Linked DNA regions of Homo sapiens: regions 2 and 3 are each linked to region 1. The links are contacts of gene promoters, found by promoter capture Hi-C in human tissues and cell types (Jung and others, 2019). All regions are on one chromosome and are shown on one strand. The core of a region is centred on a gene start or on the middle of the fragment in contact, and the rest is flanking DNA. Distances in the headings are between cores, read along the strand shown.

Evidence for each region. The method cuts DNA at HindIII sites, captures the fragments that hold promoters and counts their contacts. A contact is called where the count stands out against the background at its distance.
Region 2: a fragment that was not itself captured here is called in contact with the fragment with the promoter of CRB2 in region 1 in 1 of the 25 tissues and cell types used here (lymphoblastoid cells).
Region 3: a fragment that was not itself captured here is called in contact with the fragment with the promoter of CRB2 in region 1 in 1 of the 25 tissues and cell types used here (adrenal gland).

What each region holds. Positions count from the first base shown.
Region 1 is chr9:123,354,548-123,358,767 of GRCh38, reverse strand. CRB2 (crumbs cell polarity complex component 2) reads right to left here and starts at 2,571. Exons shown (of 13, transcript NM_173689.7): 1 at 2,414-2,571. The coding sequence starts at 2,507. RefSeq lists enhancers at 223-890, 4,109-4,220. The HindIII fragment of the contact is 16,000 bases long and covers 336-4,220 here.
Region 2 is chr9:122,838,953-122,843,552 of GRCh38, reverse strand. No RefSeq gene overlaps it. Among named protein-coding and RNA genes, the nearest start is that of PDCL, 13 kb to the right of the region's middle. The HindIII fragment of the contact is 8,050 bases long and covers 1-4,600 here.
Region 3 is chr9:124,221,546-124,226,025 of GRCh38, reverse strand. No RefSeq gene overlaps it. Among named protein-coding and RNA genes, the nearest start is that of NEK6, 34 kb to the left of the region's middle. The HindIII fragment of the contact is 4,341 bases long and covers 359-4,480 here.

The sequences.
Region 1 (4,220 bases), core at 1,322-3,821:
GACTTTGCCTAGGCAAGTAGCACAGTGTACTGTGAAATCCCAGCACTGGCTCTGGGGCTTCCTGGCTCTGGGACTGGCCATCTCTGGGCCTCGTTTACCTCCTCTGTAAACTAGGGGTATCAGAGCTGACTTCATAGGCTGTTGGGAGAATTAAATTAGACCTCGTTAATAATAGCACAGTGCCTGCCATGGAGTGGCTGATCTTACTCATTAACAATTCTTTACTTGAGGCAGACACCCACTGTCCAAAGGATCCTGACATTGGGTTGAATGTGTGTGGCTTTCTGCTCCATCTCTGCTTCTGTCCTGCAGGCCCCCACCCCCTTCTGGCTGGAGGAGGGGCCGGACTTGGGGCCTGGACTCACTGCCCCTTTGTCTGCTGGGCTCCCTGGGTGTTTGGGGAAGGGAGGGTGGATATGAGAGCCCAACGTGCCCCATTGTACTCCAAGATGCTTGGTCCTCTCCATGGCAACCAGCCGGGCCTTTGTGGCAAATTGGGCCCAGGATGGAGAGGCCCAGCTCAGGGCCTGGCAGGGGTGGGGAGAAAAGCCAGGGGCCCATGGCCTCCAGAAGCCCCCATCCCCTCCAGGATGGAAATTGGTTTTCAAGTGACAAAATCCCCAATCCCTCCCCTCCCGGCAGGCAGTCTAGGGTACCAGCATGCAGAAATGGTCATGCCTGCAGTGTACCCCACCAACTTTTAGGGATCCCCAGGGATGGCGCTCCCAGCACAGAAATGGCAGAGGAAAGGCTGCCCCTGGGCAACCCAGCAGGCCTGATGGGTTGAGTGTACACACCAGTGTCCAGACCCCCCACAGCCTCCATCCACTCTGTGCCTCCAGGTCCCCTGTGAGTGCACACTGAGTGTGAATGCACACATGTCCACATGTGCGTGTTGGGGTGTGCACATTGGTGTGCAGGCACATGCCATGTGTGTAGGTAGGTGCATGTGCTGGTAGATCCACATGTGTCTGTAGCACCTGTCCCTGTGGTGCTGTGTGCCCTTGGGCATGCCACACAGGTGTGCGGAGTGTGGGTGTGTGAGCATCACAGGGCAGGGGACAGAGCACCGATCCACAGACCGGGATCTCACGTGCTTTGTATGCAGAGAACAGAGAGGAGCAGCCACCCCGCCCCCCGCCACCATGCCCCACCCCTCTATGGAGCCCAAGTCGCCTGCCAGCAGAGCCCAGCTCATAAGTCCCCGTCCCTCTCTGAGCCTTGGTTTCCTTCACTGCAAAATGGGGTCCTCATCCTCCCTAGGGCCCCATAGAGAGGATAGGAAATGAAAGCTTTGTGAGTGCGGGAAACATGAGGGTCCCCAGGTGGGACTGGGAGACACTTGGCCCCCACACCCTACAGCCTGTGGAGCTCTGGGGCAGGGAGGGCTCCCCCAGCCTCAGGAGAGCCCAGGCCCTCCTTGGCTCCCTCCCCAGCCTGTGGTGGTGGGGGCAGGGGACTTCCCAGGCCCGGCCCCTGTAACTATAGTAACTAACACCAAGCGTTCCCTTGGACCCCCCAGGAGGAATTCCAGGCTCCGAGAGCTTGGACAAAAGCAAAAAGGGCTTGGCAAATGTGGTCTGGCTTCAGGGAGCCCTTTCAGATTGGCCTTGGAATGCTGGGGAGGGGGCAGCAGGGGACACACACATGTTCCCAAATCCCCAGCCACCCCACAGGGACCCAGAGCATCCCCAGCAGCCCTCAGCACAGGCAGGGCTACCGCACAAATGGAGGGGTGCGGGCAGGCACCCAGCTCCCTGAGTCTCCCTCACGCTTCTCCACTCAGTCCCGAGTTGGGGTCGGCTGTGCACATCCCACACCCCTCATGTTGAGAGCAAAGACCTAGTTCAACCCTGGACAACCTACACCCCACAGCGTGTGCTAGGACACAGCTCACCACACCCAACTCCTCGGACACAACTCACGGCTCACCCCAGACAGCTCATCCACCTCCCAACTCTAACACACCCACAACCTGTGCCCCACAACCCAGCATGCGACACAGAACAAGCTCTGGGGTGAGGCTTATGCCACCTGCAACTCCCCAAACTCAGCCCCTAGAAACCCAGAAGTCCCCCAGCCCTTTACAGGATGCAACACAGCACCTCCCAAAACACGCACCCCATCCCTCACCCGCATCAGCTCCCCCAAATCATGCCCAGCCCCCGATCCCCCAACCCCGAAACTTACAACCCCCCTCAACATGAAACAGCCCCGAGCCTCAGAACACACTCACCTCCGTGGAGCCCCACAGAGTCTGGGGGCCACAGCCGCGCACTCCTGTGCACCCCACAGCTCAGGCCTGCACCCACGCGGACCAGCCCACCCACCACCCCAGCAGCCAAGGCTTGGGGTATCTGTCTTGGGGGACAGACCCTCTCCCAGGCCCCTCCAGACATGGGCCCCAACTCACCAGCCAGGAGGGAAAGGGCAGGGGCCCAGAGCAGCAGTAGCAGGACAGAGGCCAGGGCCTGGGGGTCCGGGGTCCCAGGCCTGGCCAGCGCCATGGCAGCCCGCTCTGCGCTCTGCTCGGCTGCTGTGAGAACGGGAGGGCGGCCTGGCTGGCTCCGCACCCCCCTCGTCCCTCCAACCAGCACTAATGCTGTGGACAGAGGCCCAGCCCCTCCCTCCCCTCCCCGCCACCGCCTCCTCCTCCCACCCAGGCCTCCTGGGCTGCTCCACCTCGTGGACGTCCCTAGACATCAGCCCCAAGTCCTCAAGCCCCCTAGCCTGTGGGGCTGACCTGGTCTTGGCACCCACTGGTTTCTCCCTCCTGACCCTCTGCCCCACTCTCCTCCCACCTCTCAGGTCAGCCTCCTTGGAGAAATTTCTGTCCTTGGAGAGGGGGCTGTTCAGGACTCTCGTCTCACCAGGTGATGCCAGCTACTCCCAAGTCCTTAGTTATCCCCTCTCCTGGATCCCCCTCCCCACCTCTCCAGCCCGGGCCTCTCTCCCAAGCCCAGGCCTTCGAGTCCAGTCGCCTCCCAGACCCTGTCTCTGCTGGGAAGCTGCAGCCCCTCCCACCCAGCTCGTCCCCCCACCTGCTGCTCCCCAGTGCTCCCATCGGAGCCAAGGCACCTCCCATCGGGCAGCCCAACGCCCCCTCCCCACTCCCCCCTCCCCACACTCGGTCAGCCCCTAGCTCCTGGCCATGCCACCTTCTCAGTGTCTCCTGCTGTCCCCACCCCGTCCCACCCGACCACACACAGCTCCTCCCACCATCGGCCTCAGGATCAGCTCCCTGCAGGGCACCTCACCCCTGCACCACGGTGGTCCCTGCCTCCCTTTACCCTCTCCACCCTTCACCAGCCAAACTGAACCTTTCCCAGCTTTCTTCCACTTGACCTTGATCTCTGGCTCTGCTGTTTGCAACTCCAGCGACCTCACTGCAATCCAAAGCAGCCCATTCTACTGAAAGGCAGCTCTAACCAAGCAAGCATTGCTCTCCCCTGCCAGGAAGTCCTTCTTGTTGTCTAACCTTATAGTCTCCTGCTGCACTCGATGTTTGCTTGCTCTCCAGCTGGCCTCTTGTTGGGGTGGACAGGAGGAGCTCTTCAGGGGGACCTGGTTCAGGAAGCCAGGTCATCTCAGAGACACTACAACATAGAACAACATTCCTTTCTTCTACCACCCTCAGCCCCAGTGGGGAGAGAATCCTCTTGCTGAAGGGACTTTCCTGAAATGAGCCACCGGCCCCTGCCAATACATGCCTGTTTGTCCCTATTCAGTAACCGTGGATACAGCCCACGCAGGCCCTGGGCTCTGGGATGTGTCCCTGACACGGGAGGACACAGCCTGGAAAGACAGCAGGAGCCATTGAGGGAGGTCCAGATGAGCTAGAGGGATGGGCAAGGGTCCCCTGCAGTGCAGGGGAGGGAGCAGTGGGCACCACACAGGCCCTGGCCGACCCTCTAGCCCGGGGCAAGTGCCACAGCCCTGGGTCCCCAGGGACCAAAGGAGGGAACCCAAAAAGGCCTGGGTAGACTCCTTATCCACTGCCCCTGCCCCATCCCTGCCCTTGAGGCCTGTTCTCTCCAGGGCAGGGATTGCCCCTTGGTTTCTGGGACACTAACCTCTCTCAGTCCATCTTTAATCCCCTGCCTCTCCAATACAACAGGATCCCTCTCCCCAGGTGGGAGAAGCCCCTCTCCATGCCACAGGAAAAGCAGAGGCCTCACAGCGTAAGAGATCTGGGTTCGAGCCCAGCTCAGCCACTGATT
Region 2 (4,600 bases), core at 1,979-4,478, 520 kb after region 1:
CTTGCAGTGAGCCGAGATCGCGCCGCTGCAATCCAGCCTGGGCGACAGAGTGAGACTCCGTCTCAAAAAAAAAAAAAAAGAAAAAACAAACTACCGTCCTTTACTTTAGATGTTATAACCCGTATCTTATGTTTGAGATGTTATCTAACTCGCCCAGATGTTGTAACTACAAAGTAGTAGAATCAGAATTCTGATTTGTCTGCCTCTTTTCTACCTCTCAAGGAGGTGGTGGTGGTCATGGTGATCGGAACTTATATTGACCGTAAGTGTTACAATGGAAGAGGTGTTTAAGGAATGGTGCTTCAGTGACTAATAGAGCACTTAATATTTTCTAGAAACAGTTGTAAGTACAATAATATATCACGACTTAGGACCATAAAACTGAGGCTGAGATCTTAAGAGATTTTGCCCAAGGTCGCAGAGGAGGTAGGTAGGGACTTCATGAAGGACAGCAAATACCATTCTAAAGAGACGAGTTATATAATCTAAACAATTTGGGATTTTAGATCCCTTTAGCCATGGGGTGAAAGGTAAAGCTGGAGATAGACCAGCAGGGAGGCCAGGTCAGCAATCTAGGTAAGAAGTATTGAGAGCATGGCCAAGCTGGGACGGAGGAAAAAAAGATGGATTTAAAAAGTAGGAGACAGCAATGGACAGGATTTGTAGTGTAGGAAGTCTATTGGACATCTACCCAATCAATATAGGGGATTAAATTTGGCTTAAAATCCCAGACCCCATTGCTGAGAACAGTCCAATATTTGTAAAACATGTTATATACATCCTAAAGTATGTGACAATGGAGATCAGGAAGGAGGAAGAGGGTGAAAAACCATGGATGGGTGATCCAGGTAAGGGAGAGGAAACTTAAGGAAATGAAATTCCAGGGAGATTTTATTTCCTTTATAATATCTATTGAAATAATTATCATGCACATTAACAAAGTATCCCAGATACCCATGGAATATCTTCATGATTAGATCTTTCACTTCAGGTCTTTATTCAAAAGGCAGATCCAGTGAGAATCAGATGGAGGGTGCCATTTAAAATAGGAATTTAGGGCCGGGCATGGTGGCTCACGCCTGTAATCCCAGCACTTTGGGAGGCCAAGGAGGGCAGATCACTTAAGGTCAGGAGTTCGAGACCAGCCTGGCCAACATGGTGAAACCTGCCTCTACTAAAAATACAAAAAATTAGCCAAGCATGGTGGCAAGCACCTGTAGTTTCAGGAACTCAGGAGGGTGAGGCAAGAGAATCACTGGAACCTGGAATTTGGAGGTTGCAGTGAGCCAAGATTTTGCCACCGCATTCCAGCCTGAGTGACAGAGTGAGAGTCCATCTCAAATTAATTAATTAAAGAGATATTTAAACCCGAGATTTTAGATAAGATCAACTGAAGTTTTTAAAAAAGTTTTATATTTCGAAATAATTGTAGATTCACAGGAAGTGCAAAAATTGTACAGAGGACCATATAGCTTCACACACCTTCTCCAGTGGTAACATGTTACATAACTATAGTTTTTTGTTTTTTTTGTTTTTTTTTTGAGACAGAGTCTCACTGTCGCTCAGGCTGGAGTGCAGCAGTGGCATGATCTGCAACTTCTACCTTCTGGGCTTAGGTGATCCTCCCACCTCAGCCTCCTAAGTAGCTGGCACTACAGGTGCACACAACCACGCCTGGTTAGTTTTTGTATGTTTTGTAGAGATGGGGTTTTGCCATGTTGCCCAGGCTGGTCCCAAACTCTTCAACCCAAGGGTTCCACCCACCTCAGCCTCCCAAAGTGCTAGGATTTCAGCCGTGAGCCACCCAAGCCCAGCCCCTAATTATAATATTAAAACCAGGAACTTGACATTCCTACAATCCAGAGCTTATTCAGATTTCACCGCTTTCCCATGCACTCATTTGCATGCATGTGCATGTTCGTGTGTGTGTAAGTTCTATGTAGTTTTCACATGTAGATTTGTGGAACCACCACTACTATCAAGAGCTGTTCCATCTCCTCAGTGATCCCTCATGCTACCCCTTTATATCACATCCATTTTCCTTGCTTATCCCCATTCTCCCATCCCTAAACCCTGGCAACCACTAATCTGTTCTCCATCTTTGTAATTTTGTCATTTTGGGAATGTTATATTACTGGAATTACACCATATGTAACCTCGAGATTGGCTTTTTGTTTTCACTCAGCATAATTCCCTTGAAATTCATCCAAATGGTTGTATGTATTAATAGTTTTTTTCTTTATGTTGCTGGGTAATATGCCATGGTACATCCGTGGTACCATGGTATACTACATGTATACTACACACCATGGTAATGGTGTCTTTAGCTATTAACTCATTGAAGGGCATTTGGAATGTTTCAAATTTTTGGCTGTTACAAATAAAGCTGCTATGAACATTTGTATGCATGTTTCTGTGTGGACATAAGTTTTTATTTCTGAAGTTTTTTTTTTTTCAGTGAATGAATTGGTATACTTTGTCTACCTCTGAAGGAAATTAATAAATAAGACTATAATAAGGTCTTAACTTGGAAATGGACAAATTCCTTAAAAATACAGTTTACCAAACTGGATACAAAATGAAAATAAAAATTGGAATAACTCTTGTATTAATTATCTGTTGGTATAACAAATTACCGGAAAACTTAGGGGCTTACCAAAAAATGTATCACCTCAGTTTCTGTAGGTCAGAAATCTGGATATGACTTAAATAGGTCCTCTGCTTCAGGGTCTCTCACAGGCTGTAATCTAGCTGTTGGCTGGCACTGCAGTCATCTCACAGCCCAGCTGGGGAAGGATCCGCTTCCAAGCTCACTCATGATTATTGGCAGAATTCATTCAGTTCTTTATGCCCTTTGGAATGAGGACATCAGTTTTTTTGCTGGCTGGAGGCTGGAGGCTACTGATAATGGCTTGGATGTTTGTCCCTCCAAATCTCATATTGTAATGTGGCCTCGTGCTGAAGGTGGGGCCTGGTGGAATGTATTGGATCATGGGGGCAGATCCCTCAAGAATGGCTTAGCACCATCCCTGGTTGATGAGTGAGTTCTCACTCAGTTCATGCTAGATCTGATTGTTTAAAAGAGTGTGGTACTTCTGCACCCCACACACACCTTGGTCCTGCTCTTGCCATGTGATACACTGGCTCCCCTTCGCTTTCCACCATGATTGTAAGCCTCTTGAGGCCCTCAACAGAAACTAAGCAGATGTTGGTGCCATGCCTGTACAGCCTGCAGAACTGTGAACCAAATTAAACCTCTTTTCTTTATAAAGTACCCAGACTCCGTTATTTCTTTGTAGAACAACACAAGAACAGACTAATACAGAACATTGGTACTGAGGAGTGTGGCATTGCTATAAAGATACCTGAAAATGTGAAAGTGGCTTTGGAACTGGGTAACAGGCTGAGGTTAGAAGAGTTTGGAGAGCTCAGAAGAAGACAGGAAGACAAGGGAAATTTTGGAACTTCTTAGAGACTTGTTAAGTGGTTGTGACCAAATTGCTAATAGAAATGTGGATAGTGAAGGCCAGACTGATGAGGTCTCAGATGGAAATAAGGAAGTTATTGAAAGCTGGAGTAAAGGTCAACCCCGTTATGCCCTAGAAAAGACTTGGCTGCATGGTGTTCACATCCTAGGGATCTGTAGAAGTTTGAACTTCAGAATGATGACTTAGGGTATCTGGTGGAAGAAATTTCTAAGCAGCAAAGCATTCAAGATGTAGCATGGTTTCTTCTAAAAGCCTATGATGAGATGCGGGAGCAAAGGAATGACTTAAAGTTGGAAGTTATATTTAAAAGGGAAGCAGAGTAGAAAAGTTTGGAAAATTTGCAGACTGTTCCCTGTGGAAGAGAAAGAATCCAAGCAGGCTGCAGAACTACCACTTGCTAGAGAAATGAGCATGATTAAAAGGGAGCCAAGTGCTACTATCCAAGAAAATGGGAGAAAGACCTGTATTGCATTTCAGAGATGTTTGAGGCAGCCCCTCGAGTCACAGCCCAGAGGTCAAGGAGGAATGAATGGTTTCCGTGGCGAGGCCAGGGTGCTGCTGCCCTGCACACTACTGCCCTGCACCACCTCGGTGGGCTGCTCCAGCTCCAGTCTTGGCTCAAAGGGCCCCAGCTATGGTTCCATCTGCCACTTTGGAGAGTGCAAGTTGCCCTAAGCCTTGGTAGCTTCTAAGTGTTAAGTCTGCAGGCACATGGAATCAAGAGTGAACGAAGCTTGGCAGCTTCCCCCTAGGTTTCAGAGGATTTATGGAAAAGCCTAGGTGCCCAGACAGAAACCAGCTGCAGGGCAGAGTCCCCAAAGAGTTACTCACTACGTCAATGCCAAGGGGAAATGTGAGGTTGGAGGCCCCACACAGAGTCCCCACTGGGTCACTGTCTTGTGGAGCTATGGGAAGTGACTGCCATTCTGTAGACCTGAGAATGGTAGAGCTACCTGCAACTTGCAACCTGAGCCTGGAAAAGTCACAGGTGCCCATCTCCAGCTGGTAGGGGAGTAGCCACAGGGGCTGCACCCTGCAAAGCCACAGGGATGAAGCTAGTCAAGGCCTTGAGAGCCCACATCTTGCACCAGTGTGTCCAGGATGGAAGACAT
Region 3 (4,480 bases), core at 1,280-3,779, 870 kb before region 1:
ACACACATCAAATATGCATATATGTATACACATATGCATGCAGGTGCATATACATGTATATATATAGACACACCTTTCTGTCTATATTCTCTCTCTCTCCACATAAACACAGATTCTCACCATGTGTTCTCACTGAGAGCTCCAACTCCAGCCCAACACTATGGGCTTCTTCAGTTTCCTCCTTTTTTTTTTTTTCTGAGACGGATTCTTACTCTGTCACCCAGGCTGGAGTGCAGTGGTGTGATCTCGACTTACTGTAACCTCTGCCTCCTGGGTTCAAGTGATTCTCCTGCCTCAGCCTCCTGAGTATCTGGGATTATAGGCACACGCCACCACGCATGGCTAATTTTTGTATTTTTTAGTAGAGATCAGGTTTCACCACGCTGGACAGGCTGGTCTTGAACTCCTGACGTCAAGTGATCCGCCCGCCTCGGCTTCCCAAAGTGCTTGGATTACAGGTGTGAGCCATTGCACCTGGCTTTTTTTTTGTTGTTGTTGTTTTGTTTTTTTTGAGACAGAGTCTCACTCTTGTTGCCTAGGCTGGAGTACAGTGTCACAATCTCGGCTCACTGCAACCTCTGCCTCCCGGGTTCAAGCAATTCTTCTTCCTCAGCCTCCTGTGTAGCTGGGACTACAGGTGCACACCACCATGTCTGGCTAATTTTTGTATTTTTTAGTAGAGACGGTGTTTCACCATGTTGGCCAGGCTGGTCTTGAACTCCTGACCTCAGGTGGTCCGCCTGCCTCCGCCTCCCAAAGTGCTGAGATTACTCGCGTGAGCCACCGCACCCAGCTGGTTTCCTCCTTTCTGCATCTGTGCCTCCCTGCCTCATCAAGGAGAAACCTGAATCCTCTTGTCCATGCTAAGCTATACCTCTGCTCTGCCCCGGTGCATACCCATCTTTGATTGCAGCAGGCTGCCGCCCAGGTCCAGCCTCACAAGGGCCACTGTGACTGTCATCCTCGAGCCTCATGATTTTGACTGGATGCACTGAGAAAGGTAGGCAGGCAGGAGGAAGAAAGGAAAGAAGGGAGAGATACAGAAAGGCAGCGAAGGGGAGAGGGAAAAGACAGGCAGGCATGGGATGGGTTTTTAAAGCTTTAGAAGATTTCTTGGATTTTCAGGAATGTTCAGTTTGTCTCTACCCCATGTCCCTGATGCTGCCACTGGAGGGGAACAGAATAGAGATCTAAGCCCAGTCTGGGCTGCAGGTCCCAGAGGTGAGAGGGATCTGAAGGCCCCAGATCCTGACCCCCCGTAGCCATGATGGCCTTGCTAATTCATTTCATGCACACAGTGGGAACTTTTACAAATTAAAACAAAATGAAAAAAAGCTCACTGGGGTGGCTCATGCCTGTAGTCCTAGCACTTCAGGAGGCCAAGGTGAGCAGATCGCTTGAGACCAGGGGTTTGAGACCAGCCTGGGCAACATGGCGAAACCCCATCTCTACAAAACATACAAAAATTAGCCGGGTGTGGTGGTGCATGCCTGTGGTCCCGGCTACCTGGGAGACTGAGGCAGGAGGATGGGTGGAGTCCGGGAAGTTGAGGCTGCAGTGAGTTGAGATTGCACCACTGCATTCCAGCCTGGGTGACAAGAGCAAGGCCCTGTCTCAAAAATAAATAAATAAATAAAATGTTTTAAGTCGGGATAGATTTGTTAAGCTCAATGATCTGGTGATATGGCACAGTGACCCTTTGACTAACTGACTTAGCCACGGTAGGTGTGGAAAGGGAAAGTGGTCTCTACTCACGGGCTCTGGGGTCCCTTCCTTTTGCACCCACGGTAGCTCTGCTCATTTGCATTAGTACTGTCTGGCTTTGGATTATATTTCTTTTGATAAAGGGTTTGAAAGAAAACTGAGCTGGGCGCGGTAGCTCACACCTGTAATCCCAGCACTTTGAGGGGCCGAGGCGGGCAGATCACCTGAGGTCAGGAGTTTGAGACCAGACCGGCTAACATGGTGAAACCCTGCCTCTACTAAAAATATGAAAAAATTAGCTGGGTGTGGTGGCACGTGCCTATAATCCCAGCTACTCAGGAAGCTGAGGCAGGAGAATCGCTTGAACCCAGGAGGTAGAGGTTGCAGTGAGCTAAGATCACGCCACTGCACTCGAGCCTGGGCCACAGAGTGAGACTCCATCACAAAAAAAAAGAAAAGAAAAGAAAGGAAACTGAGCCTGAGTTCCAGTCCTCCTGGGCCTCCTTGCTGGGTGACCCTGGGCAAGCCTTTCCTTCCCTGAGCTTCAGTTTCCTATCTGGGAAAGGACAGGTTGGATGCTGAGTTCTGTGCATCTCAGTGTCAGGTGTGTTGCACACATAGCTGGGGACCAGCCACCAGTGCCCAGGGAGGGCCACCAGTTCCCCAGGCAGGGGAGGGAGGAACCACTTTCCCCACCCTCTTCCAGAGAAACAGGTCACTGGCTGGGCTTGGGCCTGCAGCCAAGGGGAACTCAGAGACAATAAGCCCAAGTCACCCAGCTGGCAGGTTGTGCAATTTCCACCAGCGCCTGCAAACAAGATGTTGGCCCCTGAACTTTGGACTCTGGGCAGCCTTCTCCCCACCCCTCAGACCTAAACCACCCAGTTTAGGGGACAAGGCTGGGGGTGGGCAGGGTGCTCACTTAGTTCCAAGGACAGCCAGGTGGCTCTGGGCGCCTTGAAGAGAGAGGGTCCCACCAAGGAGGGTGTCAGAGCACCTGGCTGTGGGGAGTCAGTGGAGGAGGCTGGCCATTGGGGAACTGTCAGAGTGTGTGTGTGTGTATGTGTGTGTGTGTCTGTGTCTGCATGTGGACAGGCGGCACCTGTGAGCTGAGTTGCCTCTGCCTATGCATGGAGCCATGGTTACTCTCAGGGGAGTGACATCAGCAGATTGTCGGATGCTGGATGCTGCTTTGTGACTGCAGGGTGGTCCATGCACGAGTCTGTGAGGGTATGATGTGTGTCCTCGTGTGTGAGTCATCCTGGCTATTGATAGGCGTGTGTGTTATCTGTTTGCATGCATGTATGTAATGGGGCCCATGGCAGAGTGCAGATAGGTGAGACTGCACACACGTGTGATTCTGTGGGGGCACGTGCAGGTGTGTGGCTCTGATTGTGTGCCGATGAGTGTGCATGTGGGTGTAAATACACGCATGTGTGCACAATGGTGGGTGGGCATGTTTACCATCAAGGATACGTGTGTGTGTGTGCATGCCTGTGTGAGCCCCATTTGCTGGGCCTGTGGTCTCTGTGGTGGTACTATGGTTTGTAAACACGCATGACCTCTTTACTACACATGAGTGCAGGTAACATGGATGTCCACGCAAGTGCCAGTGTAGGACCCGTGTCCCTGGAGCTTTGGCCCAGCTTGTCACACGCTTCACCCCCTGTGCCCCTACCAACCTGTCAATTACTTTCATGCTTCCAGCAAGTCTCTATTCTGAACCTCAGTTTTCCCATCTGAACTGCATAGGAGGAGGTTGGACTGGATGAGCCCTCAGGCTCCTCCTACCTGTGCAGCGACTTGGATACCGCGTCACAAAGAACATGCAAACATGAGGAAAGTGAGAGCCCAGAACGCCTAGAATTTACCTCAGTCCCTGGCTGAGGGACAGGAAGCTTTGAAGTGACAGATGAAGCTAGGGACCCAGATCCTGGGATAGGGCAGGCCCAGCAAGGGCCTGAGGGACCCACTGTCTTCCGTCTGGTGAGCCACCACCATGGGCTGGAGGGAGGGGACTGACTGATGGGACCTCTGCCGGGGAACCTGGAAGGGCAGATGGGAGTGGGGAGGCCAAGGTGGGAGGACATCTGTGAGCAGCCTCCAAAAGGAATCCCAGAGACACTAGGTGGGAGGCAGTACCACCCCTCTACTCACAGAAAGGAGTCTGTCCCCACTCCTTTGTTCCTTAAGGAGTGGAACCCTGGGGCAGCTGTCTTGACACAGAACGAGCCTTCATTCCCCTTAGGGCTGGTTCCAATATTTGAGGCTCCAGCCTGATTTTCAACAGATGCTGAAGGGGAAGGAATGGATACCCTGCTGAATGCCTCCCCTGTACTAGGCACTTTGCTAGTGTGCCAGGAAGGGCTTCTTTGCCCCCTTCACTACTTTCTTCTCTCCCCTGGTTCTCGACAGCTCCACCCACCCTTTGTGCAATAAGTCTTCAGGAAGGTGAAGTAGAGAGACAGCAGAGTAGCGCAATGCTACTCCACCTATGTCACAAGAGACAGTCAGTGGTAGCATGAGAAAGCTTTGCTGTCTTGTAGTAAGTTTACTGCAAAGAGCTAGAAGGAGCTAGAGCCTCTTCCATTAGTCCCGCCTGTGACATGCCCTCAGGGGTCTGATGCTGCCCCTCTAGGATAAAAACTCTGTAAGTGGAGAAGAGAGAGACAATTCTTGGGCCAAAGATGCCCGCTGTAAAATTCAAGGCCAGTCAGAAAAACAGAAACCACTCTAGGTATTTCCAACAGAGGAAATTTAATATAGGGAATTGGTT